Linked DNA regions of Homo sapiens: region 1 is linked to region 2. The links are contacts of gene promoters, found by promoter capture Hi-C in blood cells and fetal thymus (Javierre and others, 2016). All regions are on one chromosome and are shown on one strand. The core of a region is centred on a gene start or on the middle of the fragment in contact, and the rest is flanking DNA. Distances in the headings are between cores, read along the strand shown. Region 1 has its middle 22 kb from the start of USP45. Region 2 holds the start of PNISR (PNN interacting serine and arginine rich protein).

Evidence for each region. Contacts are between HindIII fragments. The CHiCAGO score rates a contact against its expected background, and 5 or more counts as called.
Region 1: a contact is called between a fragment that was not itself captured here and the fragment with the promoter of PNISR in region 2, in 1 of 17 cell types (naive B cells). The highest score is 5.1, in naive B cells.

Annotation. Positions count from the first base shown.
Region 1 is chr6:99,533,510-99,541,187 of GRCh38, forward strand. It overlaps the pseudogene TSTD3. Among named protein-coding and RNA genes, the nearest start is that of USP45, 22 kb to the left of the region's middle. The HindIII fragment of the contact is 852 bases long and covers 825-1,676 here.
Region 2 is chr6:99,423,017-99,430,363 of GRCh38, forward strand. PNISR (PNN interacting serine and arginine rich protein) reads right to left here and starts at 2,292. Exons shown (of 12, transcript NM_032870.4): 1 at 2,199-2,292. PNISR-AS1 (PNISR antisense RNA 1) reads left to right here and starts at 1,855. Exons shown (of 3, transcript NR_125843.1): 1 at 1,855-2,098; 2 at 2,208-2,371. RefSeq lists enhancers at 1,593-2,113, 1,934-2,403, 2,095-3,294, 2,114-2,633, 2,634-3,154 and 3 more and a silencer at 1,770-1,950. The HindIII fragment of the contact is 21,108 bases long and covers 1,732-7,347 here.

The DNA.
Region 1 (7,678 bases), core at 1-2,500, 110 kb after region 2:
GTGACAGAGTGAGACCCTGTCTCAGAACAACAACAACAACAAAATTGAAAAACAAAAAAACAAACAAAAAAGGCAAGGAGAGAACTTTCTAGGGTGATGGAAATGTTCTGTATCTTGACTGAGGTATTGGTACATAGGTATATACATTTGTCAAAACACATTAAACACTTAAATGTACATTTTTGGTAAGTGATTATACCTCAGTTTAAAAATAATGAAAACAGAAATGCCTAAATGTAAATGACTCCCACTAGCATGGGTATATTCCTTTGGAATGTTAAGTCCTACACTTAATTAGTGTGCTAATGCACTGGTGGCAAAATAAACCTGTTTTCTCTTGTCTGTGCCTCTTTAGACCCATGTAGTGTATTTTTAGACTCACTCATGCAGTCATTCTTGTAGTACCTATAAGGACAATGTCAGAAATATATATATTTCTGTCAGTGTGTGTGTGTGTATATATACACATATATGTGTGTGTATATATACACATATATACATATGTATACATATACATATACATATATACACACACACATATATGAAGGCAAGGAGAGAACTTTCTAGGGTGATGGAAATGTTCTGTATCTTGACTGAGGTCAAGATATATATATATACACACACACACACATACACATATATAAGAGCCATAATCTCAGGGAGAAGGAAAGTTGTAGACAATGAACCAACATTGAAGTACTGGGCCCATCAAGGAACAGGATTGTGGGTAAATACATCAGGCTTTTAGTCGGAATCCTGAAAAGGCTATGCCCTAGAAGTAGAGTTGAACCAGAAATTCACAACCCCCACAAGAACTCAAAACAAGCTTTGAATCAATTAAATCCCTGAATGAATTAAGGTGATCTTCCTAATATCTTAAGGGCCTACCAGAAGTAAATCCTCTCTAGAGAAAGATACCATTATCTAGCTAGAACAGAGGTTGGCAATAATCAATCTTTTAGTCTTGTGGCCAATTAGGTTTCTGTTGCAACTGCTCAACTCTGCTGTTGCAGCACAAAAGCAGCCACAGACAATATATAATGTGACTATTCCAGTAACTCTACTTATGGCCACTTAGGTTTGAATTTTATGTTTCATGTGTTGCCAAATATTATTCTTCATTTGATTATTTTTCAATCATTTAAACATACAGCAAACATTCTTAAAGCCAGACAAAAACAGGTAGCAGGTCAGATTTGGTCCATGGGGCATAATTTGTAGATCCCTGAGCTACAGCCACAAATTTTCCTTACAATTTTTCACATACAATTTCACCTTACAATTTTCACATACAATTTCAGGTATTCTATCAAAAATTAATAGGCACGGCAGTCAATAGGACCTTATGATTGAGAAATAATGGAAAAACAAGACAAGAGAAACAAATCCACAGAAGATCTACAGATTGGAGTTTTCAGACACAGACTTTAAAATAACTGTGATTAATATATTCAGTAACTTAGATAACAAAATTACAGTAACTGAAATTAAACACCCAATAGAAGGTAGATAGGTTTAATGGCCAATTAGACACACCTGATGACAGGATTAGTGAAAATGGAAAAATCAGAGGTACATGTATTAACATGGATGACTCTTACAATGTTGAGGGAAAAAAGCAAATTACAGAAACATATACTGTATAGTTTTTGTTTGTTTGTTTGTTTTTTAAGACAAGCTTTTTCACTGTTACCCAGGCTGAAATGCAGTGGCAAGATCACAGCTCATTGCAACCTATACCTCCTGGGCTGAAGCAATCCTCCCACCTCAGCCTCCAGAATAGCTGGGACTACAGGCACGCACCACCACACCTGGATAGTTTTTTCACTTTCTGTAGAGACAGGGTCTCGCTATGTTGCCCAGGTTAGTCTCGAACTCCTAGCCTCAACTGATCCTACTGCTTCTGCCTCCCAAAGCACTGGAATTACAGGCATGAGACACCATGCCTGGCCAGTATAGTTTTTAAACATACAAAATATATTATTATTTAGGCATATGGACATATATAGTGTAAGTATAAATAAATTATAAAAATATCTACTTCTGAATGGTTTCTAATGGGGGAAGGGAGACGAACACAATAGGCTTTAACAGTATTGTTGACAATTTTATTTAATATGTTTGGTAGGTAAGCACTTATTTTTACCTTTTGTATGCATGGGACAGGGACTGTTGTCCCCACTTGGCTACACTTGAACAAGACTATATACCTTTGGATTCCTGGTACCCTTTTTTTTTTTTTTTTAAGAAAAAAACTTGATAATGTATTCTATTTACCCAAATAAACAAAGGGTTAATAAATTAGAATAATGTATCTTCTATATTAGATCGAACTTAGAAAGACAATTTTAGTTGTCATTCTGATACAAAGATTTAACAAATTTTATGTGTGTATATACATATATATATATATATATATATATATATATATATATATATATATATATATATGGTTTTTTTTTTTTTTTTTTTTTTTGAGACGGAGTCTCACTCTGCTGCCCAGGCTGAAGTGCAGTGGCATGATCTTGGCTCACTGCAAGCTCCACCTCCTGGGTTGACACCAGTCTCCTGCCTCAGCCTCCCGAGTAGCTGGGATTACAGGCACCCGCCACCATGCCTAGATAATTTTTTTTGTATTTTTAGTAGAGACAGGGTTTCACCGTGTTAGCCAGGATAGTCACGATCTCCTGACCTTGTGATCTACCCACCTCAGCCTCCCAAAGTGCTGGGATTACAGGCGTGAGCCACCACACCCAGCCTTTTTTTTTTTTTTTTTTTTTTTTGAGATAGGGTCTCGCTCTTTCTCCCAGGGTGGAGTGCAGTGGTGCTATCTCCGCTCACTGCAACCTCTGCTTCTGGACAAATTATACTTTTTAAACTGCACTGACTTATACAACAGTCTTTTTTTTTTTTTTTTTAAGACAGGGTCTCACTCTGTCTCCTGGCTGGAGTGCAGTGGCATGATCACAGCTCACTGCAGCTTGACTTCCTGGGAAGCTCACCTGAGTAGCTAGGACAACAGGCACATACCACCACAGCCAGCTAATTTTTCTATTTTTTGTAGAAGTGGGGTTTCACCATGTTTCCCAGGCTGGTCTCAAACTCCTGGGTTCAAGTAATCACCCTGCCTTGGCCTCCCAAAGTGTTGGGACTACAGGCGTGAGCCACAGCACCTGGCCTTATGCCAACAAAACTCTTATGAGTAAAACCATTATTAAGGTCTGTAGTATCAGAGACCTCAAAATGTGAATATACAGCATATGATTTACTACATCATTTAATAAATGTCTGTTTATTTCAGTAATGGGAGAATATCACTTTTACTTTGATAATATAAGGGTAGATCAAAAGTTTCAGATATGTATGAGAAAAGCCAGATTATATTTTTAAATGCTATATGTACTCTACATCTCTTTCATAATGGAATAGGAGAAAGATGTCCTGAAAAAACTGGCAACAGTGGATAGCCTCAGAGTTCTAAATTAATCAAAATATCTCAGGTTTCTTTCATTCACATAATCTTTCTTCTGTGCTTATGATCTCAGTGGGGTTTCTTGGATTCTGAGATAATGTGCCCCTTTGCTATCTAGAATGTGTATGCCATAGAAATACTGGATAGAGGTAGGATCAGCAGCTAATCTATGAGAAATTTTGTATGATTAGACACAAAAAATTGAATGCTTATCCTACCGTCCAGTAAAAAATATTTTTCGGTGTCCCCAAAAATAGCAATTTATTAATGGAAAAATATAATTTTATCACTACCACTTTTTAATGCTACAAGTTTCTCCAGGAGCAAAGGATAAGAAGAAAAAGAGAAATTTTAATAAGTTATTATTATTATTATTTTTGAGACAGTCTCGCTCTCTTGCCCAGGCTGGAGTGCAGTGGCTCCATCTCAGCTCACTGCAACCTCCGCCTCCCGGGTTCAAACAGTTCTCCTGCCTCAGCCTCCCAAGTAGCTGGGAATACAGGTGCACACTGCCACAACTGGTTAATTTTTTTTTTTTTTTTGAGGTGAAGTTTCATTCTTGTTGCCCAGGCTGGAGTGCAATGGCGCGATCTCAGCTCACCACAACCTCCGCCTCCCGGGTTCAAGCAGTTCTCCTGACTCAGCCTCCTGAGTAGCTGGGATTACAGGCACCTGCCACCACGCCTGGCTAATTTTGTATTTTTAGTAGAGATGGGGTTTCTCCATGTTGGCCAGGCTGGTCTCAAACTCCTGACCTCAGGTGATCTGCCCACCTCGGCCTCCCAAAGTGCTGGGATTACAGGTGTGAGCCACCGCGCCTGGCCACACCTGGCTAATTTTTTGTATTTTAGTAGAGATAGGGTTTCACTGTGTTGCCCAGGCTGTTCTCGAACTCCTGAGCTCAGGCAGTCCGCCCGCCTCGGCCTCCCAAAGTGCTGGGATTATAGGCGTGAGCCACCACACCCGGCCAATAAGGTATTATAATGGCAGAATGTGGTTGAAGTGAATCCAAATAAGGATAATAATAGTTCCTACTTCACAGTAAAGTTTTGAAGATTAAATCAGATAACATGTCAAATATTTAATACTTTGCTGCTATTCTTACTGTGTGAATATGTACAATATGATACCTGTTTGTAGGCAGCTGATATTTTGTGTTACTGTTTGCATTAATTTAACATTAATGGGTAAAGATGGCAGGTGAAAACTCCTAAACATCTGGGGGCCGAAATGGCAGTGGACTCCTTACTGAAAACAAGGAGATAAAGTGAAACTCTGCATACTGAACAATGAGCTAGCTTCTTGCCTTATTTCGTCTCTGAGAACTGACAGCTCAGCTCCTACTACCTGAGATAGATTTCTCTCCAGAAAAACTGACCCATCCTGAAGAAAAACCTTTAAAAAACAATGCTGGGGGTGTGAGGCTGAGGAAAATGTTTTGCTGTTCCCTTACCTATAATGAAGCTCACCACTGAAAAGTCCTACCCATGTACACAGAGATGTTCCAGATAGCTTTCTCTGTGTCTCTCAAATATGAAGGATCCTGAGATAATTACGGCCAAGCTTCTAACTTGAAAGACTATGACCAAACCAAACAGCAAAAAGGAACTTAAAGGAAATACAGGTTTAATAGCCCTTATCTGAAACAGCTGGGACCAGAAGTGTCTCAAATTTTGAAATATCTGCCTATATATAATGAGATAGCTTGGGGATGGGACCCAAGTCTAAACAAAATTCATTTATATTTCATGTACACTTAATACAAATAGCCTGGAGTTAATTTTATACAGTATTTTGAAATAATTGTGTGCATGAAACAAAGTTTTGACCCATCTCATAAAATCAGATAGGGAATTTTCTACTTGTGGCATCATGTTGGCACTCAAGTTTCGGATTTTGGAGCATTTTGGATTTTAGATTTTCAGATTATGGATGCTCAACCTGTAGTGTTAATGCAGGGAACAAAGAAAATTTTAAAACAACCAAAAAACCTAAGTTAATATCCTTAGAATTTTGAGAAGCCATTGCACTCTCCAGAACAAGGTACTACTTAAAAGACTTGGATTACCAGCTAAGTACAGTGGCTTATGCCTGTAATCCCAGGGCTTTGGGAGGTCGAGGTAGGAGGATCACTTGAGGCCAGGAGTTTGAGACCAGCCTGGAAAACACAGTGAGACCTCTATTTCCACAAAAAATTTAAAAATTAGCTGTGCACCCATAGTCCTAGCTATTCAGGACACTGAAGTGGAGGATTGCTTGAACTCAGGAGTTCAAGGTTACAGTGTGCTGTGATCGTGCCACTGCACTACAACCTGGGTGAGAGAGGGAGACCTTATCTATCGTGAAAGAAAAAGACTTGGATTCCCCATATCTCTTAAATGCAAGAGAAAACAAAGGGAAGTCCCAATATGATCAATTCTGTTATGACAACTGTGTTATTTGGACAGTAGTCAGTCCTGACTGAGGGCCGTAGAACTCGAAGAAGTCTCCCTGTGATTTGGAGAATAAAAAATGACAAACGATTCTGATGATCAATTAATAGAAGATACAAATGAAGTTGAACAAATTACAACCAAGGCAATTACTACTTCCAGAGATACAAAAATATTATAAAAGAAAGAAAATGTAATCATGGTATGCTATAGAAGACAATATTATCTATGTACATTTATATATTCGATATGAATTTAAAAAAATTATACAATTAAGTGATGATAGGAGTAGAAGTCCCAGTGTAAGATCAGGTTGGGGAAGGAGAATAGGGGGAGAAGTATGAAAAGCAAAATCCTCATCTTCCATAGCAGAGAGTTAGATAATATTTATAATTAAAAAGAAAAAATGAGGGGATTGTAAGCAGAGGAGGCAATATGCTAATATATTTGGAGATTAGATGCCCAGGTTTTAAAAAATGCTTTATTTATTTTTTAATAAACAGATACAGAGTCTCGCTTTGTTGCCCAGGCTGGTCTCGAATGCCTGGCCTCAATCCTCTTGCCTCAGCCTCCCAAAGTGCTGGGATTATAGGCGTGAGCCACCACGTCTGATCAAATGCCCAGATACTAAGAATTAGAATCTAATCCAAGCTCTGTCACTTAGTTAATCTGTGACTGGGTAAATTACTTAATATTTCTGCTCCAGAGTTTCATCATTTTTAAAATGATCATTCTAAGAATTTACTTCATAAATGCAGAGAGCTTAGAACATAATTGGCACATTTTTAATAAGTGTTCAAATAAATGTTATAATTAAAACCTTGTCACTTGGAAATGAAGTAAACAGCAGAGAAGTGACTAAAAGTTGAAAGTGGCTGCCTCTGGAGAATGGGAATGAGAGGTAGGGAGAACAGGACAGGGGTCTAACATTTTCTCTATAATGTCTTACAGCAACACTGTCCAATAGAATTTTTTTTTTTTTTTTTTGAGACAGAGTCTCATTCCATTATCCAGGCTGCCCAGGCTAGAGTGCAGTGGCATGATCTCAGCTCACCACAGCCTCTGCCTCCCAGGTTCAAGCAATTCTCCTGCCTCAGCCTCCTGAGTAGCTGGGATTACAGGCACCTGCCACCAAGCCTGGCTAATTTTTTTTATTTTTTAGTAGAGATGGGGGTTCACCATGTTGGCCAGGCTGATCTTGAACTCCTGACCTGAGGTGATCCACCTGCCTCGGCCTCCCAAAGTGCTGGGATTGCAGGCGTGAGCCACTGCACCTGGCCCAATATAATTTTAATGCAAACCATTACATGATTTTAAATCTTACACTTAAAAAATTTAAAAAGAAAGTGAAATTAATTTTAATGTTTTATTTAATCCTATGTATCCAAAATATTTAAAATATGTAATCATTATAAACAAATTAGAGATTTTATATTATTTTGTTTTGTACTATTTGAAACCCAACATATATTTTTACATTTACAGCACATCTCAATTCACACTAGCCACGTTTTAAGTGTTCAATAACCACATGTGGCTAGTAGCTATCATACTGGACAACTATGGTAATATTGGATTTTTAAAAACAATACATATCATCAATGGCTGCTATTAAATCATAGAGAAACCCAGCCACTTTATGTCTCCTGATTAAAGACCACTACTTAATTTGTACAGTGGTCTACTAAAAAAAAAAAAAAGACAGAAAAAAAGGAAGCAAGCAAACAAGCAAGCCTGAATCTGATCAAGCCTGTAGATTCAATTACCAATTTAC
Region 2 (7,347 bases), core at 1,042-3,541:
TGGTTTTAATACCATTCTTCAATAAAAGGAATCAGAGATCTTTAAAGAAATAGCTGACTCTAGGACTGCGACAGGAAATATAAAAGATGAGTCTGGGGCATGTATACTGCCAGGAAGCAATAAAGTGCTAAAAAAAAAAAAATTGATAGGAACATGTCAAAGGAGAACAGTAGACAACTCGAAGAGCTGCCAATGGCCAAAGCTGGTACAATTTGAGCAACAAAATAAAGAAGTACTGGATTATAATATAAGTTATGTAATAAACATCCACAAGCCCATAAGGATATGATAAAATAAACTAACAAATAAATGTGAGGGAAGACACAAATCTCCCACAGAGAATTCCAAATAAATTATGTAAATATTCCACCCTAACTGAGGAAGAGCACAACTGTCCATTCAGTAAGCGTGGGCTCTGCAAAGTGACTTCCTTCCAAAGAGAACAGTATAAAAAGGGGTGGGGGAAGTAACTTTACAGTGGATAAATCTAACAAACGCTACTCCAGAAGGATGATCAAGGTCAGTAATAATGTGATAAGTCACCTTGATAGTATGTATCCTTGATAGCATGTGTTGAAAAGGGCATCTTACCTCTGTGATCTTCCCCTGATATAGTCCGTAAGGCCATTTTAATCATGAGAAAATCGTCTGGCAAATTCCAATAGCAGGGCACCCTACAATATACCTGACCATACTCCTCAAAAAATGTCAAGGTCACTGTATTAGTTTGGTATGCTTGCCATAACAAAGTACCAAAGACTGGGTGGCTTAAGCAACAGAAATTTATTTCCTCACTGTTCTGGAGGCGTATAGTGTAAGCTCTATGGGGTTGATTTCATTCTAAGGCCTCTCTCCTTGGCTTGTGGATGGTTGTCTTCTCCCTATGTCTTCACATGATCATCCCTCTGTATCCTACTCTCTTCTTATAAGGACAGCAGTTATTAATATATTGGGCTAAGGTCCACCCTAGTGACCTCATCTTCTTTAAAGACCCTCTCTCCAAATACAGTCACGTTCTGGGGTACTGAGGTTAGGACTTCAAGATACGAATTTTAGAGGGGCACAAGTCAGCCCTTAACAGTCATCAAAAACTAGTTAAGCCTGAGAAACTGTCACAGCCAAGAATATACAGCCTAAGAATATACAACAACTAAATGTAATGTGATATCCTAGCTGGCATCCTGGAACAGAAAAAGGACTTTAGGTAAAATGTGAGGAAGTAGGAATAAACTATGGACCTTAGTTAATAATTTATCATTATTGGTTCATTAGTTGCAACAAATGTACCATACTAACATCTATTAATAAGAAGATAAACTGTGTGTGTAGTGGGGACGTCGTATGTGCTCAACGTAAACAAAAACTGTTCTAAAACATAAAGTCTATTAGTAAGTTAAAAAAAAAAACTCTCAAGAACATCTTTAAAGAACTGTTTTCTCTATAAGCCCTTTGCCACTTTACAAAAAAATTCCACAAGTAAAATCTTTAGTAGTCTGGTTGCTGTTGTTTTCGCCCTGCTGCACTCAAATGAGGAATTCTAAGTTTATTTTGTTTTACTTGGGGGCAGGGGGAAGTAAAAAGATGTAAAAGATTAATGTTGAATTAAAATCTTAAGCTAGAATGTTAATTTAACAACCCACAAACAAATTTGTCTAATGCTCAATTTGTTCAGATGACGATACTATCCACCACAGGGTAAAAAACTGAAATATTGGATACTACCTTTAGCGAAGCTTAACACATAATATCCATCATTGGGTAAGAACACACGAAAAACACAAACTAAGGAACTGCGCCTGCGTAGTCAGAGCCTCAAAGGGTATAAGCTCCAGGTCGCGAGCCCCCGCCTCCTCCGCCCCCATGAACCCCCTTCCCACAAGGGGGTTCCCACTGCGCACGCGCAGTGTTTAACGGCCGGTCAGGAACCCAACAATTAGTCCCTTCTCGTCCGAGAGGAAACTCTGTGAGAAGATGGGACCGTGAGCACTCTCTTTAACAAGGACATTTCCTTTTCAGCGAAAGCAGCGCTCTGATTTACCAAGTCTGGCGGACCGCAGCGCTTTAAAGGAATGAGGTTCCAGCGGTCGCGCCAAGCAGCGTACGCAGCCTATTTTAAGTTATGCTACCTTCGCCACAGAAACCAAGAACGTTGTAATGGTCCGGCAAGTGCCCACGTATAATTGTTCTCCATCACTTACCCACTCTAGTTCGGGAACACCCTTGTCGCCGCCGTTCCGGTAACACCTCTCCAACGCTTTCGATGCTTCTACTTCTTCGGGAACAAGACAAGATGGCGCCCGATTTGTCTCACCCGGAAGTAAAGAATAATAACATCCGTTTGTCATCTGAAGCCATACCATCTCTCATCCAGGTTTGTGAACACGTGATTGTGCGGATTGACATGTTTCGGCGCCATTTTTTTTGTGGGCAAAACCATCTCTACTCTGGTCAACACCGGGCAACTGAACCATTCCTGCACGTTACTTTTTAACGTAGCTGGCGCCATTCCCGACCCATCTTTATAGTGGCCAGAAAGCCAAGAACGTAAGTGTTCTACACATAGGGCGCCTTCAAATTTTTTACTTTAGCAACGTGATCTTCCTTTAAGGGGAAGTATGTTCCCTCCTAGAAACACTCCCGCCTTGGAGAAGGGGTTGAGTTCGCAACTCCACTTACAGACTACGGAGGAACCCCAGGGTCAAACCAAACCAAACCAATTCTGGCCAGTTGCTTAGCGCAGTTCAAGTTACTTAGTGCGCTGGAAGCGGCATTTCAGGCAATCCAACTTCTGGCTCGAACCTTCTCGGAGTATTCCAAGGATGGAATACTCTCACTTGAGCGCTGCCGAGGGTGCCGCTTGAGGAAAACGTGAGTTTGTGAAGGTGAGCAGTCTGGGTCGGTAGCGAAAGCGGAGACCTTAGCTGACCCCGCAGCTGTCTTTCTCTTTGTTAACCTCAACACATCGCGCCCCCTTCCGGGAACACTTGCTCTTCTCTCCTTGGCTTAACTAGTCCCGGTTTTTCATTCTTTATCCGTGACTTTTAGGGAACCGTGGGGGGGAAGTCTGGTTTCCGTCCTGCTGCTTTCCTTCAACTACAAGATGGCTTCTCAAAAGGACGCATGCAATGCCATTCCTCAAAGACAGTATGTTGATTTCACAGTGTTTTTATATGAACAACGTTCAAGTGTCAAAAGTATCAATTTCCAGGCTAGGAGCTACAAGTTAAAAGGAAAACAAAAATGTTCCAAAGATACAGTGTTTATTAGCTACATCTTGGGAAGTGCCTTTCCAGAGAGTAACATGAAAACTTCTGCGTGACAAAGTGCACGAAGTATCTGAATTATTTCATTGGGCAATTGTCGTGCAAAAGAAATAGCAAATTACCGTAGAAACAAAATAGTAAGAGCACAGCTAGATGGATAAAGATACAGATGTGAAAATATAGATGCCCTTTGCATGAAAATTCAGTTTTCCTCAGCACTAGAGACCCAGATACTCCTGAATTAGCATTATAATAAAGTCGTCACTAGCTAACCATCTGCCTTTCCTCCAATCCACGGACGTGGTCCTCAAAATAACATTTTATCTTGTGAGAAACCTTCATTAATTACACCTAACAACACCATGACGCAGGTTCATGAGGATACTACTGAAGGCAAAAGGAAATCCCTATTTCTCTGACCCTTTCCCTAATTTCCACTTAGCACAAATAAGACTACTGGACAGTCTGATTTTAAAAAATCACTGTATGGGCCGGGCTTGGTGGCTCCCGCCTGTAATCCCAGCACTTTGGGAGGCCGAGGCGGGCAGATCACTTGAGGTCAGGAGTTCAAGACCAGCCTGGCCAACATGGTGAAACCCCGTCTCTACTAAAAATACAAAAATTACCTGGGCGTGGTGGCAGGCGCCTGTAATCCTAGCTACTAGGGGGGCTGAGGCAGGAGAATTGCTTGAACTCAGGGTCAGAGGTCGCAGTGAGCCGAGATCCCTCCACTGCACTCCAGCCTGGGCAACAGAGTGAGTCTCTGTCTCAAAAGAATAAAATAAATAAAAACCACTGTATGGAGCAAAAACTAGAAGGACATATACCACATGTTATCAGTAATCTCTAATTTTGCTCTGTGATTTTGTGCATTTTCCAAGTTTTTTGCATCAGGTCTGATTTTCAAGTTTAATTCTCTGAGAAACATTCTCATCAGAGGAATGTTCTATCTTCTTAGAGAAACCTGATTGGCCTAGTGAAACTGTCATGTTCCTACTCTCTATAATCATATTGTAATTCTTTGCTTGTTTCCCTAGTAAAGGTGAGGCAATTTTCGGGTAAGGGATTTCCCCCTCACCTCTGCCCTCCAAGTGGCCAGCATCTGCTTTGCACACAGAAATTTTTACATCTGCTATATGTTTGCATTAATATGTTCAACAATGATCCTAATGTAGGCCAGTCATTTTGGAAATGCATTGTGAAGTGGAGAGGATTATTAAATACCTCACATTTTGTTCCTTGTGCCAGTTTAATGAGACACCCTCAGCAATTGCTATTTACCAGACCAGAAAATGAATTTTACAGTTCCAATTCCAGTTCCCTTTCTCTAACCACTCTGTTCTAAGAGTTCCCCGTAACATTATGATCTTATGGACACATCAGGTAAGTGTATGTATTTCAACACAGAATTTTCTAAGAATGTGTGTTGTGGTGTTAAATTTCTATGTAAGCAGCTGTCACGTGCATGATCTGCTGCAGTTTGATCATCCTGCGCCTGGATCATCAAATGCTTAGCAGCCATCATTTTACCAGTCTTATCTGACAATCTGCTGTTAATGACTAACAACCAGGGGACTTTATAGGTTAAAATTTTTATTAACTTCCTCTGTTTTCAGTGTTTAAAGTAGAAAATTTGGCCAATGTGGCTCACGCCTGTAATGCCAATACTTTGGGAGGCCAAGGAGGGTGGATCACCTGAGGCCAGGAGTCTGAGACTAGCCTGGCCACCATGGGGAAACTGCCTACAAAAAAATACAAAAATTAGCTGGGTGTGGTGGCCCAGCTACTCAGGAGGCTGATGCATGAGAATCACTTGAACCCGGGAGGTGGAAGTTGTAGTGAGCCGAGATCGTGCCACTGCATTCCAGCCTGTGCTACACAGCGAGACTCTGTCTCAATGAATGAATGAATGAATGAATGAATGAATGGAGTGAAGTAGAAAATTCTAGGGGAGGACATGTCACCTTCCATTATTACAGAAACAAATTATCCTTAAAGCAAAATGGAAATAAGCTAAGTAAGATGATATGTGGAAAATATATCGAAATAGGAACTATTGCTGTTTCTTGAGATTTGAACCTTTATAGTGTTATTAGGTGCCATATCACATCCATCTTAAAACCTAATAAAAATTTAAAGCTGTGGTATATATATACAATTGAATATTATTCAGCCTTAAAAGGGAATGAAATTCTGATACATGCTACAATATGGATAAACCTTGAAAACATGCAAGATGAAATAAACCAGACACAAAAGGACATATATTGTACAATTTCACTTATATGAAGCGCCTAGAATGGGCAAATTCACACAGATGGAGAGTAGAATAGAGGTTCCCAGGAGTTGGGAGAAGGCGGGAATGAGAAGTTACTGTTTAATGGGTACAGAGTTTCCGTTTGGGATGATGAAAGAATTCTGGAAATGTGAATGCACTTAATGACCCTAATTATACACCTAAAAATGGTTAAAGTGGTAAATTTTATGTTGTATATATTTTACCACATAATACAATGGAGGATGAAAAATATTTAAAGCTAGTATGCTACAGGCACATCATTACAAATTACAACTTTTTTTTTTTTTTTTTTTGAGATGGAGTCTCACTCTGTTGCCAGGCTGGAGTGCAGTGGCGTGATCTTGGCTCACTGCAACCTCTGCCTCCTGGGTTCAAGCGATTCTCCTGCCTCAGCCTCCCAAGTAGCTGGGACTATAGGCGCATGCCACCACGCCCCGCTAATTTTTGTATTTTTAGTAGAGAAAGAGTTTCACCATGTTGGCCAGGATGGTCTCGATCTCTTGACCTCATGATCTGCCCACTTCAGCCTCTCAAAGTGCTGGGATTACAGGTGTGAGCCACCGCACCCAGCCTACTCTTTGATTCTTAATATAGTTACTTAAGCATTTCCTAGATAGTAGTGAATCTGGCATAATGAAATACGAGGGTATAAAATAATACTTTAGTTATTTAACAATAGATCCCATTGGGCTTTATGCAGGTATTGTCCATTTAGGCCAGGTTGGAGAAAGTAAGGTAAACTTATGTTCAATGACTGCCTGTTCTTACCTAAAATCTTTTGTGATTCAAACTTGTGGGGAAAAGCAAGAGAGATCAGATTGTCACTGTGTCTGTGTAGAAAGTAGAAGACATGGGAGACTCCATTTTGTTCTGTACTAAGAAAAATTATTCTGCCTTGAGATTCTGTTAATCCATAACCTTACCCCCAACCCCGTGCTCTCTGAAACATGTGCTGTGTCAACTCAGAGTTAAATGGATTAAGGGCGGTGCAAGATGTGCTTTGTTAAACAGATGCTTGAAGGCAGCACGCTCCTTAAGAGTCATCACCACTCCCTAATCTCAAGTACCCAGGGACACAAAAACTGCGGAAGGCCGCAGGGACCTCTGCCTAGGAAAGCCAGGTATTGTCCAAGGTTTCTCCCCATGTGATAGTCTGAAATATGGCCTCGTGGGAGGGGAAAGACCTGACCGTCCCCCAGCCCGACACCCGTAAAGGGTCTGTGCTGAGGAGGATTAGTATAAGAGGAAGGCATGCCTCTTGCAGTTGAGACAAGAGGAAGGCATCTGTCTCCTGCCCGTCCCTGGGCAATGGAATGTCTCAGTATAAAACCCGATTGTACGTTCTATCTACTGAGATAGGGAAAAACCGCCTTAGGGCTGGAGGTGGGACATGTGGGCAGCAATACTGCTTTGTAAAGCATTGAGATGTTTACGTGTATGCATATCTAAAAGCACAGCACTTAATCCTTTACCTTGTCTATGATGCAAAGACCTTTGTTCACGTGTTTGTCTGCTGACCCTCTCCCCACAATTGTCTTGTGACCCTGACACATCCCCCTCTCGGAGAAACACCCACGAATGATGAATAAATACTAAGGGAACTCAGAGGCTGGCGGGATCCTCCATATGCTGAATGCTGGTTCCCCGGGTCCCCTTATTTCTTTGTCTCTGTGTCTTTTTCTTTCCTAAGTCTCTCGTCCCACCTTACGAGAAACACCCACAGGTGTGGAGGGGCAACCCACCCCTTCAAATCTATCTACAGATGAGAAGCCTACTAAAATTTTA